Linked DNA regions of Homo sapiens: all the other regions are linked to region 2. The links are contacts of gene promoters, found by promoter capture Hi-C in human tissues and cell types (Jung and others, 2019). All regions are on one chromosome and are shown on one strand. Each heading gives the region's core, a stretch centred on a gene start or on the middle of the fragment in contact. The rest is flanking DNA. Distances are from core to core; before and after follow the strand shown. Region 1 overlaps UNC5D (unc-5 netrin receptor D). Region 2 holds the start of KCNU1 (potassium calcium-activated channel subfamily U member 1). Region 3 overlaps UNC5D (unc-5 netrin receptor D).

Region 1 (4,420 bases), core at 185-2,684, 1.3 Mb after region 2:
TTTTACCCAAAGTGAAGGATGATTTTGATTTTCTCAAAGAGTGCAGGCAAACAGAGAATCCTATAAAGTGGTAAAAGAGAGCTAGTGATCTCTGTCCTTGGGAGTGGTCAAAAGTACTTGCCTATCCCTGTTTATCTGTGTCTTCACGTGCACATGCTCTCAATAGTTATTCATTACTCTAATATAGGGCAATCCCTAAACGACCAACACATTACCGGGCTAAGTTAGTTTCAACTATTACATTCTGAATGCCATCTTGGTTTTGACATTGAGAAATTTATCTAATTCATAGTAAAAGCAGGTAAATATCTGCTTTAATAATTTTAAACTTTGTGTTATCCTTACGGAAAAAGTTGACACATTTCTCAATTTCTTTGAGAGAATCTTAAAGAATTCATAAAAGGATTGTTTATATATCCTTTTGATAAGATCACAGAATTTTAGATTTGGTAGGAAAAAATATCACATTGGTCATTGGTGATCTAATACTACTTCTCAAACAATCTCCCACTAAAAAGTGATCATCTAGCCATTTGGCGAAAGCTTTTCGTTATCAGAAACACACTCCATGATTACACAGCTCTTGTTGGAAGATAGTGCTTGGTAATCTTGAATGAGTTCTATTCCCTCCACCCTACCCCAACATCTGCCCAAAGGTCCTAGTTTTGCCCTAAAATAGATACTGGATGAGAACACATCTTCTCCCTTCACTATCTGAAAGTTCTTTAAATATTTGGAGACAGTTATTGATAGGTTACTCAAACAAGTCTGATTTTTTCTTCTTTTTTTTTTTTTTTTTTTGCCTGTCATAGTTTCATTATGGCATGGAAGGTTTCAAATATAAAGGTTCTGGATTAGTTTGAACATTAATGCTGCATATCTAAGAGGATGAATCCAAAAACCTCATGTACTGCAGCTGAATCTAAATTATCTTCTACCCTGCCTTCATAGCTTAATTTCTGCTTTCAAGCTGTCAATCCACTCCCACTTTGAAACCAGCTAATTTGGTGTGTCCACACACTTCCCACTTCCTCATCTTCCCAGAGCACAGTTCCATGATGAATTCAGCATTGAGGAAAGAACAGGTAACCTCAGCTGGGTTCTCAGGAAAGGACATTAGAAATTACAAACTATCCATCCAGTGCTCAAAGACAACTGGCACTTGAGTTATGGGCATGTTTTAAGGAATTCGTCTTAAGAAAAAACTGTGAGGGAGTACGAATTTCTGAACTTACACACTCAAAACCTGCTTGTCTGAGAAAGCGTCACAAGGTATCACAAATGTTTTCACCCACTAATTTTATAGTTATTTCCATGACCTGGAATTTCACCCCTTGTCAAAGAGTCTCTAGGAGACAGCATCCTAGACTTTAATCATTTTTATTCCAAGAAAAAGTAAAATTAAGTTGCAGCAAGTGGTACAATTTTCCCATTTTCTCCTCACTTCTTGCAGAAAGAAATTCCAAAAATATGCTACGTAATACAACCATGCTCAAAGAAACACAATCCACCATTGGCCTATACTGCACTTGGGAGCATGCAGTTGTGCTGTCTAGAAAAGTCCTATGAGGCAGAGATTGTTTTTATTTCAATATATGTGAATACCAACCTCTCTTTTTATATGATCAATGAAATTCTCATTACATAAAATATGAAAAAATCTGTAAATTATGATGGCAAATACAGGACTGTTGAAATCCAAACTTTTCTCATTTTCAACTAAAAATTGAATTTCCATTTTTGAATGGCGTCCATGAGAAATAGTCTCATGGGATAATAGAAATGACTTTTTTAAGGAAATAACACCATCTTGTGGGCATTTAGGACTCTAAAGCTCAGTACCATTTCCAATGTGTTGCATTTTTACAATCTGATTAAAAAAGCACTGGCTTGAATGTAAAGTTTTATGAATTAGATAATGCAGAAGGATGCAAAGACAAATTATATATAAATCCTACTTCCTGGACACTCAAATCCAAGGTTAGGCACACACATGCATACACAGGTATCTAATAAGAAAAAAAGTGCTGATACAGAACATAAGGTTTTAGTTATGTTCAAGAGACAGTGAGAGATGAATTCTGACTGTAAGAATCTGGGAAGTCTTGGAGCAGGTGATATTAGTACTGGACCTTGACATCTTTATTAGACTTCGGTAACTCCTTGTGAAGAGGAAGATTATTCCCAACATTATGATCAGCATGAGGAAAAAGCATGAAGGTAGGAGTATCAGTTTCATCCTGCTGCTGTAACAAATCATCTACTACAAGCTTGGTGCCTTACAACACAAATTCGTCATCTTATAGTTCTGAAGGTTAAAAGTCTAATACAGGCATCACTGGGCAAAATCAGTTGTCAGCAGCCTGTGTTCCTTTTTGGATACTATAGGAAAATAACCCTATTTCCTTGCCTTTTCCAGGTTCTAGAAGCTGCCCACACACCTTGGCTCATGGTCCCTTCCTCCACCTTCAAAATGAGCAATGGTGGATGGAGTTCTCTGCATTGTCTTCTACGATAACATCCCCCTCTAACTCCTCTCCTCTGCTTTCCTCTTTCACTTTTAAGGACCCCTGGGATTGCACTGGGCCCACCTGAGAAATCCAGATCCTCTTCCTATTTTAAGGTCAGCTGAGTAGCAACTTCAAGTCCATCTAACCTAACATATTCACAGGTTTCAGGGATTAGGATATCTCTGGGAGACCATTATTCTGCTTATAACAGTGGAAGAAGACAATATTAAGAGAATGATGAGTAGATTGAGTTTCACATAAAGAAACAAAGACACATGAAAAGGATATAAGGAGGGATACAACTGAAAAGAAAAGGATTGAGACTTATGTGGCTTTTGAGCATACAATATTTTTTTGAGGTTGGGTCTTGCTCTGTTGCCCAGGCTGGAGTGCAGGGGCATAATCTGGGCTCACTGTGCCTTGGCTTACTGTGATTGAGACTTATGTGGCTTTTGAGCATACAATATTCTTTTGAGGTTGGGTCTTGCTCTGTTGCCCAGGCTGGAGTGCAGGGGCATAATCTTGGCTCACTGTGCCTTGACATGCCAGGCACATGTGGTCTTCCCACCTCAGCCTTCCAAGTAGCTGGGACTACAGGTGCATGCCACCACAACTGGCTAATTTTTTGTACTTTTTGCATAGACAGTGTTTTGCCACGTTGCCCATGCTGGTCTGGAACCCCAGGACTCAAACAATCTGCCCAGCTCTGCCTCCCAAAGTGTTAGGATTACAGGCATGAGCCACCGCGCCCAGCCAAGAAATATTATTTGACCTTGTCATAAAGAATATAATCCTGGCAGTGATATGTATGGTAGACTGGAGGAGATATCTACCCAAGGTGGGAAACCAAGTAGAAAACCATCACTATCCAGGTGGTGACAGATAAGTGCCAGAACTCATATGGGGATTGCATGAAGGAAGTGGCAGACATGAAAATCACTGTAAAGGCAGAACAGAGAAGGCTCTGAATGTTATCAGGTTTCTGGAGGGGGAAGAAGAGGATTTCAAAATCACTCATATTTCAAATGTGTGAAAAAAATGTTATGCTGTTATGTGTGGGAACACAGTAGCCCATGACTTGGGAGATGGCCAGGGTTAGGGATAAAAGTAGATTTACTTAAAGCTACATGAGTCAATAAAATGGGCCAGAAAGGCTAGATGAAATATAAAAATAAGCAGGTTAGAATTGACCTTCAAAGATTGCCTCCCATTTAAAAGTTGAAGAAAAAAAGGAAACAGAGGAAAAAGGCTAAGAGAGAATCAAGATTAGGAACAAGAAAGCTTAAGGAAAGAAAAAAGAAAAACTAGTGAAAAATGAAAGCTGCACATAGGCTGAGCAGTCAGCAAAGATGACTTACAATCCCAGAAAATTACAAATAACCTGGGCACTCAAGTGTTGGTGTAATTCAGCTTTCTCAAGGTTCTTCTCCAGGTGATGATAATACCACATATAGCAAATAAGTACACAGGTTTGAAACTATTGGCAAGAGAATCATTAGTCAACTGTTTTCTTTTTTATTATTATTATTATTCTTTGAGAGGGAGTCTCACTCTTGTCGCCCAGGCTGGAATGCAGTTGCGCAATCTTGGCTCACAGCAACCTCCGCCTCCCAGGTTCAAGCTATTCTCCTGTTTCAGCCTCCTGAGTAACTAGGATTACAGGTACCTACCACCATACCCGGCTAATTTTTGTGCTTTTAGTAGAGATGGGGTTTCGCCATGTTGGCCAGGCTGGTCTCGAACTCCTGACCTCAGGTGATCCACTCACCTTGGCCTCCCAAAGTGCTGGGATTACAGGCGTGAGCTACTGCGCCTGGCCGACTGTTTTCTAATACATAAGTACCTGTATAAGATTAGAAATCTGCAAGTTACTATGGGCAGGTTGTCACCAAAGCATAATAGAAAACCAA
Region 2 (4,265 bases), core at 1,319-3,818:
CAAAGAGAAAAAGATTACAAATTGATTTTTTAGCTGATTACTTAAGTGTCCGCATTTTGTGAGAGAAGGGGGAAGTTTTCAGCAATTTTGTGTTGCTCTTAGTTTTTTGCCTGGTGTTATATTCTGAAATTATAATCCTTCCTCACATTTATAGAATGTCTTTACTTATTATATTTAAATGTTACGGTAATCTCATATGATAAAGTTAGGCATGACTAAATACATTTTATATTGATGTGGATACCAAGGTATAGAGAAATTAAATGACTTTCCTAATATCAGGCAATGAGGAAAGGCTGGGGCCTGAGCTGGCATTCATTGTTTGTTGATAATAGTCTAGAACCACCACAAAGAAATACACAAACCAACTAGGACTACCCACACCAAGCTAGATGAGTCCCTCTGACTTTCAAAAAAGCTCATTTTATATGAAGCCAGGATTTCAAAATCACTTAATTTTTCTACTCATATTTTCTGAATGATAAAAAGGGAAGTCTCATTAAAAAACTCTTTGATAAAAGTTCACATCCTGATCAATGATTTGCCCTCTAATAAACATGACTCATGTCGGTTTCTAAATGTTGTCTGAGAATTAATTTTAAAAAATCCTAGGTATGACATTAATATAGAATACTCATTTGAATTCCATCATAAAATTGGAGCTACCTTCTGTGGAAAAACAAATTGGTCCTAAGATATAATAAACTCATATTTATAGATGTAATACATGTTTTAAATGCACATTTAAGGAGAGAAATTGTAACTCTCCAAATAATTTTTAAAATAACTCTTCACAGTACACCTAGATTTCTGATTTTTTTTTTTTTTTGCATTTGTCCAACTTCTCCAAAGGCTTAGAGAAAAACAGGTCACTCTTAATTTGATGTAATAAAACAAATCATTGAAAAGTAACTCAACTTGATCAAACTCTTTCCTCAAGATTCAAAAGCAGAATGGTACAGCATTCTGGTTGCTCAGGCTCACTTCTTAACATTTTGTAACATTTGCTAAATATTTGTAATTAAAGGGTATACCTGGATCGAAGTGTAGACATAAATTACACCCAAAGTAAGAAATGAAAAATATAGGAAATTGACAAATGTACTGTCACATTTTTGTAATCACACAAAATGAACATAATGGAGAAGAAGAACATTGCCTGGAGCAGAAGACTAAGAAGATTTAAAAATCCTACAAATTCAGTTGTGCATTAACAACAACAAAACAAGGTAGAAACAAGGAGGCAGATCCATCATAGCTATTTACCCATATGTCAGTATCCCAGAATTCTTTCTCCAATTATTGTGCCACAGCTTAAAATCCATAATGTAGAAATAATCAATAGAATAAACTTGTTTAGGAACAAAATCTATAAGCTTCAGTATTGGATAATTTTCAAATATGGAAAACAAAATTCCATATTACCAATAACTTTAAAAACTTATCAATTTATGAATTATATTTTATGTAGGTTTTAGCACTAAAAGAAATGTTTTAAGCAAATTTTCAATATTATGATGCACAGGTGAAATGTGTTGTGTTATGGAAATTGCTATAATCTATCAGAGAAAGAAAGTTTGGGAAGCAAAATTGGAAACAAACTACACAGGGTATAGTAAAACTCTTCACCTTTGACCTCTGGTAATAGAACATCCATTACACAGCATTTGAGAGCTTTATTTCAAGCTCTTAAGCAATGCCTTATCTGTATAATACATCATTTATTCTCATCATCATCATTTGCCAGCTGTTATTCAACAACATCAACTCCTGCTAAGCTTGTTTGGGTATAAGAAATGTCCTTGCATCTATGCCTGGATGGCACAGGCATGTATGCATGGGCTTCTCTGTGTATGTGCAACTCAATGTGTTGTCTTCATATGGTATACAAAAGGCAATGTACACGTCAGTACATATGCATTATGCATGAACAATTTATGAAAGCAAGGTTGATGTTGATGTCTTGTTCCCTTTCACCTCCTTTCTATGACCTAGCACAATTGTCTTGTTAAAATTCGAGATAGAGGCATGGACATAATGTTTATGAACTTTTTTTCAGAACAGTGACCTCTGTTTCCAGAGCTAACATTAATCATTATCCATACAAGACATTGCTTTTTCCAGTGATGGGAGAGAGAAGAGGCTTGGCCCTGTCTCTTCAGGCCTCAGAATGTGGCCTGAGGTCTGGCTTACCACCCTTTCTGAGGCACCAGGCTATAGAAGCTGACTCTGTTAGCTTGAAAAACTGAATGAAGCTTAGATCTTTTACTAAACACAAAACTACCCCAAACTCATCTCTGACTTCACACAGAGGGATCCCTAACAAGGAAACTGACCAAGATAATTCCTGTTCCCTTGATGATTTGCCATTTTTTAACAGATCTCCAGATCAGCCTGAAGATCAACAGGATGATGAGTCCACTGAAGAAGGTCACAAAGGAAGAGAGAATGAATGCTGCTTGGATCTCAGTTGTGCAGGACATTTTTGGCAAGTCTTCCCAAGTTTCATTTCGTAGCTTAGTCTGAAACATGTTCGAGACATCAGTAGACGGAATTGCCAGGTCATTTGATGACGCCGTGGTCGCCTGGTAACAATTCCAGGAATCAGAGTTCACTGTACCACAGTGTTCCAACATTAGGCGTGATAACCAGTGAGAAGTTCCAGGAACAAGGGTCTGCCAATCCCCCGGTGCCAGCTCATGGGTTGTGAATGAATACACAACTGGAGATGGCTGGGGCCTACAATATGAATAGTCAAAAAAATCATAATTCTAGATCGGATTGTTACGACTTTCTCTATGCCTTGAAGAAATCCCATTATCTGTAGCAATGATCAGCTGGTTATCAGTTCAGTTAATGCAGTCAAATAATTTCAAATCAACTCTTTCGGAGTGAAACAACAGCCAACTATGTGTGTGAATGAGTTGGTTCTCTATCTGGGAGGATGCCACGTGCTTAGTAGGCTTGGAAGGACAGAAGAGAGAAGTACTTTAAAGTTTTTGTTTATCCTTTATACAAAGGAGCAGATATGCAGAATGAATAAGTCTAGAAGATCTAGTGTGCAGAACAAAGAACATAATTAATAAAATTATTTGTATTCAGGATTTTTGCTAAAAGAGTAGATTTTAAGGGCTCTTGTTACACGCACACAAAAGATGATTAACTCTGTGAGATGATAGATATATGAATTTGCTTGACTGTAGTCACTGCTTCACTATGCATAAGTTTATCAAAAGAGCATTTTGCGTTTGTACTTGTATGCGGAAGCTAAAACAGTGGATCTCATAAAGATAGAGAGTAGATTCATGGTTACGAGATGCCGGGAAGGGTGGCTGAGGAAAGAAGTTGGATAAAGAGAAGTTGATTAATGGGTACAAATATTTGGTTTGATAGAAGAAATAACATCTAATGTTCTATAGATCAGTGAAGTGACTATAGCTTATGATAATCTATTGTACATTTAAAAATAGCTAGAAGAGAAAAATTTGAATGTTTCTAGCACAAAGAAAATACAAATATGTAAGTTGATTGATATCCCAAGTACACAAATTATGTGAATGTATTAAATTATCACGTGACTTGAAAATATGTGTATCTGCTGTGCATCAATCCAAAGAATATCACGTTGTACTCCTTAATTACACACAATGAAAATCAAGATTATCTTGAAACAGAAAAAAAAAGGTTTTGTTTATTCTTTACATAAGAAAGGCATAGTATAGAGTGCAGGTATTGAAGAAGACAATTTAACTAGTGTGGTCATTGGTTGATTGTTATTTCAGCCCATAAATCCATTCCACTTATCTCTTCTTTATGGAACTCTCCCCTTTCTTGCTTTTATTACTGCCCTGGCAGCAAACCTTTTGGCCCAGCAGAGGTAAAGTTCAGAATGAGAGAAATTTCTTTGATTTTCCCTGATGTTTTCAAAGGTGTAAGAAATGTCATGCCTTTCAGTGTGCACAAGTGGCAGGCAAAATGTCAGAGCCCAGTGGAGGGCCTAGTTCACCCCAGTTATTACCAAGATAACCTGACACCAGGTGAAGAGGCCCAAGAGGAATCATCACGCTGTCCTTGGGAGCCCGCCATGACTCCACACTGTTTGGCAGGCTGTTTCAGAAGATAACTGTAGCATTTCCTAGGACTGCTGCCACAGTTACATTTCCTGCTTTTAAGCTTACCTATCATTTCTACAAAATCCTGTCATTGAGCTAGCTAATAACAAAGGGCGATGTTTAAAAGAACACTGGTCTAGGAGTTAGGAGCCC
Region 3 (4,131 bases), core at 863-3,362, 1.3 Mb after region 2:
AATCTCACAAATCACCACTGAAGAACTTACTCAGGTAACCAAATACTACCTGTTCCCCAAAAACCTATAGAAATAAAAAATTTAAGAAAAAATTGTCAATGCCTAAAAAGGTTTTCACAATACATTAAGCAAATACAAGCAAATTATAAAATTATAATCATCATAATGGCCACCAGTTCAATTTTCAGTTTTAAACTTTTATATATTTTTCCAAATTTTCTAAAGTAACTTTTGATCACTCATAAATAAATACTACAGATGTATTAATCACTTTTTTAAACACAAAAAGAATTGAAAGCTGTGCATTTCTCAAACATGAATGAGCACCACCTATAGTTTGCTGATGGGTTCCTCCCGAAGAGTTTCTGATGCAACAGGTTCCCAGGTGATGTTGATGTTCCCATACTGGAGGGACTACACTTTAGACTACTGGGTTATAGATAGGATCATAGACTTCTGGGCCAGATTATCAAGTTTAAAGCTCACCTTCAACACTTGTTTTTAGTGGGTAAATTAATTAACCTCTGAGCTTTAGTTTCTTCATTTGTCAAGTAAAAATTAAAATGGCACATAATAGTACCAACCCCTTAAGACTGTTCCATAATTTAAATAAATTAACATTTACAGGGAACTCAGAAGCACACTTATGACATAGTAAATGTTAAATGTATTATTTTAGTGAGAATGAAAATCTAGCATTGTTCATATTTCACTAAAAATGTCAAGTAACAGGTTTAAAGATTTCTACCACATTTTGAAACTTATTCATAGTTTTTATTTTGTTAACTCCTTTTCAATTCCTTTGTAGTTGCTTGCCACAAAGTCTTTCAGAATCTTGAAAAGAATTATGTGTTTACTGAATGACTAGGAGTGGACAGAGTGGAGGGAGAGGCCAGTTAAATACTGAACCCTGAACCCAGGAGGTACTGGGGGCTGGCATGAGAGACAGGGAGGCAGGAAGTTGGGGGCTACACTCTGATACCAACAGAATAATGGATAAGGTCTGATGTACACATCACTTGGTCAAGAAAGATTGTCTACATTTAAATAATAAAAATATGACTCTAGGAGGGAAACATCATGATCCACAGCTAGGGTGATGCTATAGTTTATCATCTAAACTGAGACACTTTGAAAGTAAACAGAAGAAGGTGTTTTGTTAACAATTACAATTGGTCAAAATGCAAAAATGATACTATCTGTGGCTTCCACCTTTTAAAATATCAAAATTACTAACTAAAATTTGTTATTCTCCTTTATTGACAAGGATAATTCCTATGAGGTTTGTATTACTATGGAATCTTGGAATTCTAATAGTTTTCAGAGGAAGCATAAGTGTAGTTGAAATAATAGAAACCTAGGAGTCAAAGAGTCTTCAATTCAGGGTGGACAGTGGACCAGGCCAGAAATTTCCATCCTGGGTCCACATAGTCTCTCATTTCTGTTGCCATTGATCTTCCTAAGGCTAGGATTAATGAAGGCATGAGTGTTTTCTCTTCTAATTTGATTTCAGAAGATGAATGAATTTGGGAAGAGAGAGAGAGAGAAAGTGTGTGTTTCTATATGCATGGTATATGCCATCATGCATATGCATGCACACTTACACACACACACATACTCATTCTATGTGTTACTTGAAAGGGAAAAAGAAAATTAATCAGGCCCTTCCATAAAGGCTGAAAAAAGAAAGAAAAGAAGTCTGCAATAGGCTGATTACTTTCCAGGAGATAAACATTCTCTAAATGTTTAGAGTAATCTCAGATTGAACGTGCTTACTAACTGAAATTAGCCAAGTCCTCCCAAAGAGCTTATCACTCGGTTCAGTAAGAAGAGCTAGCAGAATGTTTAAAGAGTATGAAACCAAGTACTGTAACACATCCACACTTCAGTGGGGCAGAATAGAGAATGGGAAATTTGATGTTTCTTTCAGTAATGACTGCCAATTCAGTCACCTTCTGTATGGAGGACGAACATTCAGAGATGGGTGAAAAAAAGGTTCCCCCAAATACTTTTAACATTAGATAAGAAAGACTACCAAATCAAATTCTTGTGTTATAATCTGTCAAATAATTTATGTTTTCAACAAAAGTATGTGTTTAAAGAATGAGTGAGAAAAAACACTTACAATAAATATCATAAATTTCTATATTAAAAGCAGTGAAGAAAGTGACCCTTTCTTATATCTTTTAAGAGGATTTACAAATAGCATACAATTTCTGATTCTGTTCTCATTAAAAAAGATGATCAGCTAATATATATAACCTTTTGATACACTTCCATGGAGAACTGTATATGCAAATATAATTCTATATTATATCCTAAGTATTTACTTTATGACAATGATCAGACCTCAATAAAATGAGTTGGGAAAGATCATTTACAAAATAGTCTTGTACATTTAACCATAATAATAAAAAATATTCTTTCCAGTGTGAAGCTATTACCATTGGCAGGCAACGATCTGAAATAGAAATGATGCAGTGCCCTCTTTCTGAAATAGAACTAAATATTCCGCAGATTCCCATTGAGATCTGTCAGCTTTCTTTTGCAGATCACCAAAGAACTAAACCCACCATCACTTAGACCAAGCAGCAGAAGATGATGCCATAACATGCCTCTTCTTTTCAAGGTCCAGCTCTGTGCTTTAGATTCCCATCTCCTCTCACTGTTTCACAACTTTTTCCAGCCTAAGAATGCTGGCTGCCCCCTGATTCAGCATTCTGTGGGAGTCTGTGACTCCCACAGAATGATCTCCATGCCCTTCCCCTAGATCCTTCCTCATTTCCACAGAGAGCAAACTGACTCACTAGCAGAGAAGTCTCTGTATGCCCCAAGACAGCACACACAGTAGGTACACATTTTACAGAAGTTCTCAGAATATCCTTCTTGGTAAAGCACAGTACAGTGTTCTTAGTACATTAAATACGGTTACTTGGGTTTTAGCACCCTGAGATAGAATAAGCTTCGGATACCTGACATGGTATAAAGAAAATATGTGAATATGTCCAAAGCCATGAGGTCATTCCTCTCCTCTCTGAATTACTGGTTGTAAACCCAGAGGAAGCTACCTGATCCTAATGGTCCTCACCTATATTATGGTATTTTGATGTCTGTAATTTACTGTCAAATACTTAAGCACAGTGGTGTGTGTGTGTTGTGTGTGTGTGTGTGTGTGTGTGTGTGTGTGAGAGAGAGAGAGAGAGAGAAACAGAGAGAGAGAGAGAGAGAGAGAGATGGTGTAAGAAATAGAGTTTTAATTTACAACCAACCCAAGGTAATTACTTGTCTGAATTGGGTTTGCTCTCATATAATCTAAGCATTATAATAGCTACAACAAACACTTCAGCTGTCTTATCTCTGCTCGGGAAGAGAGCTTTTATTAATTAACATAAAACAGATTTTTCGTATGGATTTTCATTGGTGAATTTTGTTGTGCTTGAATTCCTTGGATTGGCTGGAAATATTATTCAAACTACTAAACAAACTATTCTATCAACAAGTTATACAAAGACCGGACATTTGAGGTGGGACTTGAGCTTTGTTTTTTAAAGAATCTCTAATCCAACCACTATTTCGGAAGATTCTGGTTACCAATGCTGATTATAAATTACATTACTGTAATTCCTCCTAAGTAAGATCTAGTATAGACTCTTACCTCATGCCTCTAGAGTAACTCTTGTGTTTGTCACAATCAATCTTTCATACATGCTGGGAGCAGAACCCTTAAATAAGGGAATGCTGGATGTCACTGTTTACCTAGTGTGGTGTATAACTAATTTCATACTTTCCTTCCAATAAATATATTCATGTGTAGTAGGATTTGGTACAAAATATACTTGTGAATGGCAGCAAGGTTATGAAGGAAGACACATGTAACTCTCACCTACCTTCAATAACTGTAGGTCCCTGCTATTAAAAAACAACAAAAACCACCAATTAAAAAAATCTAATAACCTTGAATAGCCAAATGTGTTTATGTCAATTTATAATAAACAGGAAGAAAAATAAAATGAAAGTAATTTCACGTTTTGCAAGGAAACATCAGCTGTACAGGTTGTACAGGGTTTTCTGAGGACAACATGTGCTATGGTGCACTTGGAATATAGATAGTGCTAAAAAATTATTTTGTTA

The links. Contacts are between HindIII fragments. The study calls those that stand out against the background at their distance.
Region 1: a fragment that was not itself captured here is called in contact with the fragment with the promoter of KCNU1 in region 2 in 1 of the 25 tissues and cell types used here (dorsolateral prefrontal cortex).
Region 3: a contact is called between a fragment that was not itself captured here and the fragment with the promoter of KCNU1 in region 2, in 1 of the 25 tissues and cell types used here (dorsolateral prefrontal cortex).

The regions. Positions count from the first base shown.
Region 1 is chr8:35,463,954-35,468,373 of GRCh38, reverse strand. All of the region lies in intron 1 of UNC5D (unc-5 netrin receptor D), which reads right to left. Among named protein-coding and RNA genes, the nearest start is that of UNC5D, 230 kb to the right of the region's middle. The HindIII fragment of the contact is 3,194 bases long and covers 1-3,031 here.
Region 2 is chr8:36,782,677-36,786,941 of GRCh38, reverse strand. It overlaps KCNU1 (potassium calcium-activated channel subfamily U member 1), which reads right to left and starts at 2,568. Exons shown (of 27, transcript NM_001031836.3): 1 at 2,337-2,568. The coding sequence starts at 2,531. The HindIII fragment of the contact is 3,588 bases long and covers 2,018-4,265 here.
Region 3 is chr8:35,441,961-35,446,091 of GRCh38, reverse strand. The region is part of intron 1 of UNC5D (unc-5 netrin receptor D); the gene reads right to left. Among named protein-coding and RNA genes, the nearest start is that of UNC5D, 210 kb to the right of the region's middle. The HindIII fragment of the contact is 4,392 bases long and covers 1-4,131 here.